Regions from separate parts of the Homo sapiens genome. Here regions 2 and 3 are each linked to region 1. Evidence: promoter capture Hi-C in 16 types of primary human blood cells and fetal thymus (Javierre and others, 2016). All regions are on one chromosome and are shown on one strand. The core of a region is centred on a gene start or on the middle of the fragment in contact, and the rest is flanking DNA. Distances in the headings are between cores, read along the strand shown. Region 1 holds the start of DOLPP1 (dolichyldiphosphatase 1). Region 2 has its middle 22 kb from the start of PTGES. Region 3 overlaps NTMT1 (N-terminal Xaa-Pro-Lys N-methyltransferase 1).

The links. The method cuts DNA at HindIII sites, captures the fragments that hold promoters and counts their contacts. A CHiCAGO score of 5 or more calls a contact.
Region 2: a contact is called between a fragment that was not itself captured here and the fragment with the promoter of DOLPP1 in region 1, in 1 of 17 cell types (monocytes). The highest score is 7.4, in monocytes.
Region 3: a contact is called between a fragment that was not itself captured here and the fragment with the promoter of DOLPP1 in region 1, in 6 of 17 cell types (endothelial precursors, neutrophils, non-activated CD4 T cells and 3 more). The highest score is 8.6, in endothelial precursors.

The regions. Positions count from the first base shown.
Region 1 is chr9:129,079,179-129,082,624 of GRCh38, forward strand. DOLPP1 (dolichyldiphosphatase 1) reads left to right here and starts at 1,933. Exons shown (of 8, transcript NM_020438.5): 1 at 1,933-2,029. The coding sequence starts at 1,954. RefSeq lists a silencer at 1,631-2,360. The HindIII fragment of the contact is 2,856 bases long and covers 1,261-3,446 here.
Region 2 is chr9:129,773,775-129,777,220 of GRCh38, forward strand. No RefSeq gene overlaps it. Among named protein-coding and RNA genes, the nearest start is that of PTGES, 22 kb to the left of the region's middle. RefSeq lists enhancers at 1,292-1,858, 3,250-3,446, 3,396-3,446. The HindIII fragment of the contact is 3,905 bases long and covers 1-3,446 here.
Region 3 is chr9:129,631,719-129,635,164 of GRCh38, forward strand. NTMT1 (N-terminal Xaa-Pro-Lys N-methyltransferase 1) reads left to right here. Exons shown (of 4, transcript NM_014064.4): 2 at 932-1,147; 3 at 2,336-2,588. The coding sequence starts at 986. ASB6 (ankyrin repeat and SOCS box containing 6) reads right to left here. Exons shown (of 6, transcript NM_017873.4): 6 at 2,887-3,446. Among named protein-coding and RNA genes, the nearest start is that of NTMT1, 7.3 kb to the left of the region's middle. RefSeq lists an enhancer at 1-423. The HindIII fragment of the contact is 2,612 bases long and covers 317-2,928 here.

The sequences.
Region 1 (3,446 bases), core at 683-3,182:
TTATCAGACACTTGCTCTAGGTCTGGTCTGGACCAGGCTCAGGATGTACCAGGCCCTGTCCTCATGTTGCCCAGGGTTTCTCCAGTGGTGGCTGTAACCACCTGTATCAGAACCACCAGAGCACATAAGAATGCAGACACCTGGGCTCCAACTCAGACCTACTGGATCAACCCAGGCCCCATTGTGACCCAGGAATCTGTGTTTTCTACAGGCTGATCTCAGCACTCCATGAATCTGAGAGCCGCTGCTGACTGGGAGGGATAGGGAGCCGATTACAGTCCAGTGAGGTCAGGGCTGAGAAAGGACAGGAAATGCAACCGTGAGAGCCCAGTACTGGCCCCTCACTTGACTGTGGAAACCTGTAAGCCGAGGAGACACCTGAACCAGATTGGGCCGGGCAAAGTAGGGCAGGAGAGGCAGTACATCCCACGCAGCAAAACAGCACATGGTGGCCAGGGGCGGTGGCTCACACCTGTAATCCCAGCACTTTGGGAGGCCGAGGTGGGCGGATCACGAGGTCAGGAGATCAAGACCATCCTGACCAACACGGTGAAACCCCGTCTCTACGAAAAGTACGAAAATTAGCCGGGCGTGCCACTGCACTCCAGCCTGGGCAACAGAGCGAGACTCCGTCTCAAAAAAAAAAAAAAAAAATTAGCTGGGCATGGCGGCTCACGCTTGTAATCTCAGCATTTTGGGAGCCGAGGCAGGTGGATCACCTGAGGCCAGGAGTTCGAGACCAGCCTGCCCAACATGGTAAGACCCGGTCTCTACTAAAAATGCAAAAATTAGCCGGATGCGGTGGTGCGCGCCTGTAGTCACAGCTACTCGGGAGGCTGAGACAGGAGAATCACTTGGACCCAGGAGGCTGAGCAAGATCGTTCCACTGCACTCCAGCCTGGGCCTCAGAGCAAGACCCTGTCTCAAAAAACAAACAAACAGACAAAAACAGCACATGCTAGCGGCAGGAGACAAGAGGCTGAGCCCTCCCAGCCCACCTTACCTGCACTGTAATCCAATCCAGCCAGAGACAGAGTCGGGTAGGAGAGGTGAAGGCGGGTGGGAAGGTGTGGCTGTTCACGCAGGAATGTCTTGGGAAAACTGAGGGGTAGGTGGAAAACCGACTTCTTGTTTGAAATGCTCCCAAGACGCCTCATTAAGTAGCATAGACGTGACTGAATCAATAAATCTTTATTAAATGAATGAAAGGAGGAAGGAGTCCTTAACTGTAGCTAAGCTTCCACTCTTAAGTATCAATTAAGCTTCTCTGTTCAGTCCAGCGTTTAGGGCGCCTACTGCGCGCCCCGCCCCACACACTTTTGACAAAAAGGTCGCCTGCTCTGTGTGACTTGCCCTTTCGCCGGCCAGTATGGGGCAGAGGGAAATAAGCCCCCTCTGCTCTCTGGTCTCAGTTTACTCGTAACTGAAAGTGGGTCGGTTCAAACCCCCTGGAGCTGAGGTTGCCTCTCCTCTTCGAGCACGCGCTATCGGACGCGCAGGTCCCCAAGACCGCGGATCGGCAGGGGGTACCAGGGAAGCCTTCATTCAGGGCGCAGGTCCCAGCCGAACCAAAGCTCCCACCAAAGTTCAACACGCCCCCAAAGCCAGCGCCTGATTGGCCCGCCCTGCCCACAAGCTGAGGCAGCCTCACCTTCTGATTGGCTGTTATGCTCCCTGTTCGGTGCTGGAACCCTCCCCTTCTCTGATTGGCCAGATGCCTACCTGCGCTCGCCCCAGATTGGGCGCCAGCTGGGGCGGCTCGTTGGCTCCCAGGGGCCCCGCTCTCTGATTCGCCGCTCGGGCCAGCCCCCACGGCCTGCACGCTGAATGGCTGCGCCGCTACCTATATTGGCCTCCGATTGGGTGCACGGCGCCTCCCCGGCGTGATAGGTCAGGACCACCGCCCCCCTGGCTCCCCATTGGCTGCTCGAAGAAGCCCGGTCTCCGGGTAAGATGGCAGCGGACGGACAGTGCTCGCTCCCCGCTTCATGGCGGCCGGTGACCCTCACCCACGTCGAATATCCTGCAGGTAAAAGGCGGTCCCGGCTCCAAGGACGCCTTCCCAGGGACGGCCTCTCAGTCCCGGGCGCTCCGGCCTGCTCGAGCCCGCGGAGGGGGCGCCGGGGGACCGGGGTGGGAACTGTCAAATAGTGAACCACGGAGGGGCTCGGCCGGCGCGCGCGCCGCGCAGGCGCAGTGGTGCGAGGATGAGCTGGGCGAAATTGTGAGGCGCTCGCTCGCGCACTCTGCGGCTGCGCGGCCAGGGCGCTCCCCCGGGTCCCGGGGCGCCGGTGGGCTGAAATGGGTTGAGGATCTGTGTGAGGCGAGAAAAGATCCCTGGCCTGGACCTTGGCCCTTCTTCCCCGCCCTCCCCTGTCCCAGAGAGGCCGCACTCCTGTTCCAGCGTGCAGGGAGTGTCTTGTTTCCTTCGAACAGTGCTTTGGGCTGCTTGTAAGAGAAAGAGCTCCCCGTTGCTGGGAGTGTGCAAGCCGAAGCCAGGCTTTTGAGTACTTGTGGTGCCACGCCCTGAGCAGGGCACGATTCCACAACAGAGAGGACCCGATGAGGGGGCGGGCAGCCTCCGGGAACTTGACTTCTGTTGCTTCCCATCAGACACACCTCTCGAAGTGCAGGGCTTTCCAGTTGAGAGGTCCATTAGCGGCGTTCTGGAGGCTGTCTAGTAAGAGTGGCGCAGAGCCTGGGCGTGGGGGTCAGACCCATCTGGGCTCCAGTTGAGGCTGAGGCCTTGTGCAGGTGCCTGCCTCTGCTTAAGTTAATTCATCTCTAAAGTGGGACTGATTACAGTGCTTACCTTCTGGTGATGGTATGAGCATCAAATAGCAGGAGGCACAAGAAGGGCTGAGTACAGTGCCCGGCATGCAGTAAGCGTTCAGTAAATACCTGCAGTTAATGTTATCCCACCTTGCAAGACCCTCCCTGGGTAAGATGGTTGAGTGCCAGGGAAGGCTGGAGCCCCTCATTGAGCCCTGGTTGCCTGGGAAGGGCCTGCTCATGCTGCTGTCTTGCGAGATGTGAGAACCTGGGTCCGCTGAGGGCACCAGGACTGAATGCCAAAGAACGTTGACGCTGGTGTTCTGGGTTGTACTGGGGGTGGTATGGCCCTGCCAGGTCCTGGGCCCTGCCTGCCTGCCTGTCTACCATTCATTCATCCATTCATTCATTCAGTCAATATCCACTGAACACTTCTGAGTGCTAGGCCCTGGGCTAGCTCTGGTTTTTAGAATGCTTAACAGGCCTGAAATATCCCTGCATTCCTGCACTATGAAAACCAGCTGCTTTATAAGAGGAAAGCCAAAGCCTGGAGGTGGGGAAAGACTTGCTAAGGCCTCTGCACCTTCACAGCTTCCCCTCCTGGCCTCAGAGTAGCTTCTTGGAGTGCTCACAATCCAACAAGCCAGAAGGAACCTGGCAGGCAGTTGTGTGCA
Region 2 (3,446 bases), core at 577-3,076, 690 kb after region 1:
CATGACCTTGGGTCGCCAGGGTTAGATGTGCTTCTGCCAACATAGCCCGAGGAGGAGGGAGTGTTTTGTGGGAGCCGCTTAACACCCTGTCCTCCGCACCCGGTGAGGTCAGCACCCACTTTCCCACAACTATTGGGTAAACATACACCCAGCAAACCCTGCCTGAGGCCCAGGGCCAGGGACTCACGTGTGAAGGTCTGCAGCCTTCCACTGACTATTAGTGCAATGGGGTAGAGACTGGTAGAGAAAGCATTGTCTCAGGCTGGGTGCAGTGGCTCATGCCTGTAATCTCAGCACTTTGGGAGATCGAGGCAGGAGGATCACTTGAGCCTTAGGAGTCTGAGACCAGCCTGGGCAATACAGGGAGATCTTGTCTCTACAAAAAGTTAAAAAAAAAAAAAATAGCCAGGCATGGTGGTGTATGTCTGTGGTCCTAGCTACTTAGGAGGCTGAGGAGGGAGGATCACTTGAGGCTGGGAGGTCGAGGCTGCAGTGAGCCATGATCATGCCACTGCACTCCAACCTAGGTGCAAGAAAGAAAGAAAAGAAAGAGAGAAAGAGAGACAGAGAGAAAGAAAGAAAGGAAGAAAAAAGAAAGAAAGAAAGAAACAAAGAAACAAACAAACAAAGAAGGAAGGAAAGAAACAAAGAAAGAAAGAAACCAACAAAGAAAGAAAGAAAGAAGGAAGGAAGGAAAGAAAGAAAGAAACAAAGAAAGAAAGAAAGAAAGAAAGAAAGAAAGAAAGAAAGAAAGGAAGGAAGGAAGGGGAGAGAGAAGGAAGGGAGGGAGGGAGGGAGGGAGGGAGGAAGGAAGAAAGGGAGGGAAGGATGGGTTTGTCTCTCAACGTAAGAACCAAAATGAAGACATGTGTGTCTACCAGGTGAGGAGAGAAGTACGGAGAAGAAAGGGGAGGGTTGGTGGGTCCCCCAGGAGCCTGGTTGGCTGGTTGGAAACCAGAGGGTGTACTGGACAAGGCCCAGAATGCGGACCTGCCTGGGCCCCAATAAGGGGTCCCTCCCCATCCACAGGTAGACGCATCGCCCCGAGGTAGACACATGTCCCCTAGGGAAGAAGCCTTCGGCTACTCCTCACGTGCAAGTCACATGCTCCTCTCCCTGCTGGCACCACCATGGCCACAGCTGATGGGCAGGGGTGAGCACCTGGCTGCAAGCAGCCAATGGCGAGGCCAGCCAGCAGCCAATGAAATCAACAGCCCGATGTGGGCCTGGGCTGAGACCCACCCCCCAGAGGAGGCTGGGCTCGTGGCCAAGGACTCGGCTGCCAGCAGCAGGAGCGGCCACAAGAATGTGTACCCCTGGGGATGACAAGAAGCCCCTACAGTGAAATCCACTTCGGCTCTTCACGGGCCCTGGGGTCTTCACCTGGGTCCTGTGCCCACGAGGTCTTGGGCCCCAGCATCCTCACAGTAAACCCCTTTATCCCGGGGTCCTCAGTGCACGTCTGGCCCAGCAACGGCAATGAAACCAACAAACTGCCACACACTAGAGCTGGGTCCTGCGGCTCTGCCACCTGCTCTGTCAAACGCTGGGGTCCCCAGAAGCCACGGCCCCTGCCAAAGGTCATTTTGGGTCTCATTTGTCATCTGGGTACTTAGGGTAAAACGATATTTTCTGTGCAAGCCCCTCATTGCTTCCCTGTCTCTCCCATCCCCTAACTCCACCACCATGAAGGCCTCCCTGCTCTCACCCACTCCAAGAGCTGGATTTTCCCTGGCACAGAGAGCATAGCACCGACCCAGACAAGCCCTTTGCCACATGCGTCCTGCCAGGCATGATTCTGGCCACAAGGATGCATCAACTGCCACTGGAGCTGTGGGTGTGTTGTCACTGTGAAGCACATTGCAGCAGCAGCTGAGAGGAGAGACCAACCAGCACCCTGGGGAGGGGGCTGCATGCAGAGGTTGGGAAGTCACACTTTGGCTTCAAGCCAAGCAGAAGATCTGGCCCAAGAAAACAGGCTCATACCTCCTGGACAGGGTGGCCAAGAGACAGAGCTTCAGCTCAGGCTGGGACGCCAGTTGGGCAATAAAATTAATGACAATAATTATTATTATATAACAATGTTGATGACATTACTGGCCAACTTTACCTGCCAGACACTATGCTTGGTGCTTTATGTAGATCAGTTCATTGCCCTCATGTAGCAATCCTAGGAGGTGGGTCTATTATTATCTCTATTTTATTTTATTTTATTTTATATTTTTTAGAGGCAGAGTCTTGCTCTGTCACCCAGGCTGGAGTGCAATGGTGTGATCTTGGCTCACTGCAACCTCTGGCTCCCAGTCTCAAGCAATTCTCCTGCCTCAGCCTCCCGAGTAGCTGGGACTTCAGGTGCGTGCCACCACACCTGGCTAATTTTTTTTGTATTTTTTAGTAGAGACAGGGTTTCACCATGTTTGCCAGGCTGGTTTTGAACTCCTGACCTCAGGTGATCCACCTGCCTTGGCCTCCCAAAGTGCTGGGATTACAGGCATGAGCTACCTCGCCCGGCCTAATATCCCCATTTTAGAGATGAGAAAATTGAGGTTCAGAGGAGTGACATGACTTAACCAATGTCTGTGCTAAACTACAGTAAGATAGATAGATAGATAGATAGATAGATAGATAGATAGATAGATAGATAGATAGATAGATACCTATGTCTAACTACCTACCTACCTACCTATTGACCTATCTACCTACCTACCAACCTGCCTATCTCTCTATCTATGTGATATATATGAAAAAGACTCTTCAGAGAACTGACTCTGCTGATGCCCAGAATAGGGTGCGGGAGACTCATCAAGCTGATCTCCCATGCTGGGCCCAGCTGGATGTTCTGACTTTACCCAGAGTATCCAGATTTCAATTAACTATCTCGGAACCACAGTAAAGGAGCGTGTGCGCTATAGTTGATTGCTCAGCCCGAGCACAGGGCTGGGTAATCTTACTCCCAGAGGGTTCTGAGGTTGGAGCCTGGAATGGACCAGCTCTCTCCCTTGCCATTCAGCCCCACCCCCACCCCTGGAGCCAGGGACTCAAGCAGCCCAGCTTGACAGTCCTGGGAGGCCTGACCCCCGGCTGGGATCTCGTCATCAGCAATGCACCCAGGCTCTGGGGACAGCATGGTCTAGGGCCTCTGAATTGGCCATTATCCTAGCGGGAAGAAATGCTTCTCCCTCCAGGCTGAAAGCTGTCTTTGCTCCCAGTGATCACTTGCTCCCCAGCTCTGCACAGATTGACCCGCACACCTAGGCAGGCAAACACAGCAGTCCTAAGACCAAGAGCCAGGGTGAGGCCCTGGCAGAACAGCCATTGGAATGGGATGCCGGAGTGTCCCCAGATGGCGCCCGGGGGTGGGGTGGACCTCTTGCCACAGCAGAGTCTCCAACTGGAGCCTGGGGTTCACCCAAGACAGCCGTGGCCCTCCCTCTCACCACTTACCC
Region 3 (3,446 bases), core at 373-2,872, 550 kb after region 1:
TGCCGTCGCCCTCCACCTACTGCGCTTATTCTTGCCCATCCATCGGTTTCAGCTTACGCGTCCCCTCCTCAGGGATGCCTTCCCTGGTCCCCGCACCCGACTCCACTTCCTCCCTCCGTGCTCTGCTGGCACTGGCGCTTCTCCTCTGCAGCCCTCCCTGCAGGTGTGGTTGTGTCTGTAGAATTGTTTTCTGCCTGGCTGGCTGCCTGGTTCACAGCCCGGTGCCTGGCACAGAGTCCCCACTCCTTGTTAACGGAGGACTGGACCCCACCGTGAGTTGTTGCTGTGCTCTGAGCCAGAGGAAGGGAGGCGTGGAAGCTTCCCTGGCCCTCCAGGGTCTGCTGGTGCTCTCGGCTTTGCGGTCGTTTCTCTTTATTGATCAGGGTTTTCTGTGCCCTGAAGCCACTGAGTCAGGTGTCATATAGAGCATATCAAGAACTTGAAGCCAGGCCAGGCACATGGGCTCACACCCGTAATCCCAGCACTTTGGGAGGCCAAGGTGGGAGAATCTCTTGAGGTCAGGACTTCAAGACCAACCTTTGTAACATAGTGAGACCCCATCTCTACAAAAAATAATTAGCCAGGCATGGTGGCACACAACTGTAGTCCTAGCTGCTCCGGAGGGTGAGGTGGGAGGGTCTCTTGAGCTCGGGAGTTGGAGGCTGCATTGAGCTATGATCACACCACTGCACTCCAGAAAAAATAAAAATGTAAAAGAACTTGAAGCCAGGACTTGGGGCGGGTGCTCTGAGTGCAAAAGACAGAAGATGCTGTTATCCAAGGGGTAGAAGCAGATTTGGGGACCCTGGACTTCTCTCTGCACTCAGCAGGATGTGTGACTTGTGAAGCCTGGTGTGAGACTGGCCCTCTGCCCTGGGGGCCTTTCTGCCAGGTCCCTGGCCCGCTGACTCACGCCCCCTTCCTTACCCAGGAGAGTCGCGGTTGCTGATCGTGGTGCTTGAGTAGAGCCGTGGTTGGTGACAGCATGACGAGCGAGGTGATAGAAGACGAGAAGCAATTCTATTCCAAGGCCAAGACCTACTGGAAACAAATCCCACCCACGGTGGACGGCATGCTTGGGGGGTATGGCCACATCTCCAGCATCGACATCAACAGCTCCCGGAAGTTTCTGCAGAGGTTTTTGAGGGTAGGCAGGTCTGGCGTGCTCTCCAGGAGAGGCTGTGGCTCTGGTGGCACTGCCGAGTCCATGTGGGGTGCCACCTTTTACACATGTAACACTGCAGGATTGTTGGCTATCTCTTGGTACCTACCCCAAAGCCTTGAGGAGCTGGGCTGGGTGGGCACAGTGGGGTAACTTCTAGATTGTGGACTTAGCCTCAGGGTTACCAGACAGGAGCTGGCTGTTAGGCAGAATTGAGGTGCCTGAATTGGGCAAACCTCTCTTCAACTGTTGGGTTTTGCCAGGGACGAAACCCTTGCTCTCCTGCCATGTCCACGGGTGTTTGGACTGAGGGTGTTGGCTATTCTGGACGAAGACTCCTAGTTATGTGCCATGGTTTCCACCCTCTGCTCCACCCCCAGCCTTTTCTGTACCAGGCTGGGACCCCCAGTCCTGGAGCCCCCCACCTTCTTGTCTCATGGCTGGCACTGGAGGCTGCTGTTGGCCACCTGCTCCATCCAGCGCCTCCCCTCCCTCCATGTTCCCTCTCTGCACCCTTGTTCACCTGTTGCCCCGCTTCCATTCTCCCCATTCCTCTCTGCCGTTGTTTACCTGGAGACTCAGGAGAGATTAGTGCACCTGTTCAAGTTATCACCTTTAAGTGGAAATTAGCTTTCATTTAGAAATGTGTGGCCCAGGGCAGGGGCAGTGGCTCACTCCTGTCATCCCAGCCCCTTGGGATGCCAAGGTGAGAGGATTGCTTGAGCCCAGGAGTTTGAGACCAGCCTGGGCAACAGACCGAGGCCCCGTCTCTACAAAAAATACAAAAAAAAAAAAATGAGTTGGGCATGGTGGCGCATGCCTGTAGTCCCAGCTACTTGGGAGGCTGAGGTGGGAAGATGGAGGATGGCTTGAGCCCAGGAGTTCGAGGCTACAGTGAGCCATGATCCCACCACTGCATTCCAACCTGAACAGAATGCAGAATGCAACCTGAACTTTCAAAGATAAAGGAATGTGTGGCCCAGCAGTGTGTCCTCCCATGCTCATCCCCTCGACTCCGTACAAGCTGGCAGCCAGCACAGACCTCCCCACCAGTGCTCAGCTTGTGCGGAGTCCTGGAATCCTGACTTGAGTCTAAGTCCTAGGGCTCGTGAGGAAGGGCCGCACGTGCGGTGACAGGGTCCCTCTGATAGGTTATATGCCTCTGCTTTTCAGGAAGGCCCGAACAAGACAGGAACGTCCTGTGCCCTGGACTGTGGAGCTGGCATTGGGAGGATCACCAAGCGGCTGCTCCTGCCGCTGTTCAGAGAGGTGGATATGGTCGACATAACGGAGGACTTCCTGGTTCAAGCCAAGACCTACCTGGGGGAGGAGGGCAAGAGGGTGAGGAACTACTTCTGTTGTGGGCTCCAGGACTTCACCCCGGAGCCGGACTCTTACGACGTGATCTGGATCCAGTGGGTGATAGGTGAGGGTTCCACCGCCCTTCCCTGCTCACCTGTATGTCTCCTGCCACTCGCGTTCCCCATAAGGTGTCAGGACCAGGGCTTTGCACTCCTGCAGCAAGTGGGCCAGTGAGGATTCCCCACCCCGCCCAGGCCCACCCCCACCCCGTACTTCCCAGGACTGAGGGACAGGCTCGGCCTAAAAGGTAGATTTCTTCCTTCTAGGTTTTGTTTCAGTTGAATACCTGCTACCATCCATTTGGGTGCAGTTTTTTGTTGAAAAAATTTTAATGGCCAATAACTTACTGCATTCAAAGTGAGGAGTTTTATAAGGGTTTTATTTTTAATAAGATGAATAGTTTAAGCTTCGTGTCTAGCCCTGCACCCTCTTAGCCTAACAGCACACCTCGAGCGCTGTGCCCTGGGCTGCTGACGTGGCGGCAGGCCGCTAGCAGCAGTCGGCCACCTCCTGAGGCGGGCAGCACAGGCCTGCTGTGGACACTCTAGGTCTGGCCTTGTATTTTGTGGTCTCAGAAGCCTTTGTGGGGACTTCTAGTGTAGGGAAGGCAGTCTCTCTGGGAGCTCCTGCAATGCCAAACTCTTAGCCCAGGTTCACTCCTCCGATCCAAGCCTGGCAGGGGTGGGGCATCATGGTGTGTAGGTATCAGGCAGGACTTGTAAGCCATCCCGTCAAGTCAAATTCTGGCTTAATGTGTCTTTAGGTAGATGACCTCTGAGCCACAGTTTCCTATTCTATGAATTGGGGTTTAGTAAATCTCTCGGGACTGAGAGCCAATGAGGCCATGTGTGCACACAAAATGCTGGGCACAAATGAGGGGCTCAGCGGGGCTGAGAAGTACATCCCATCCAGTGCCGACATC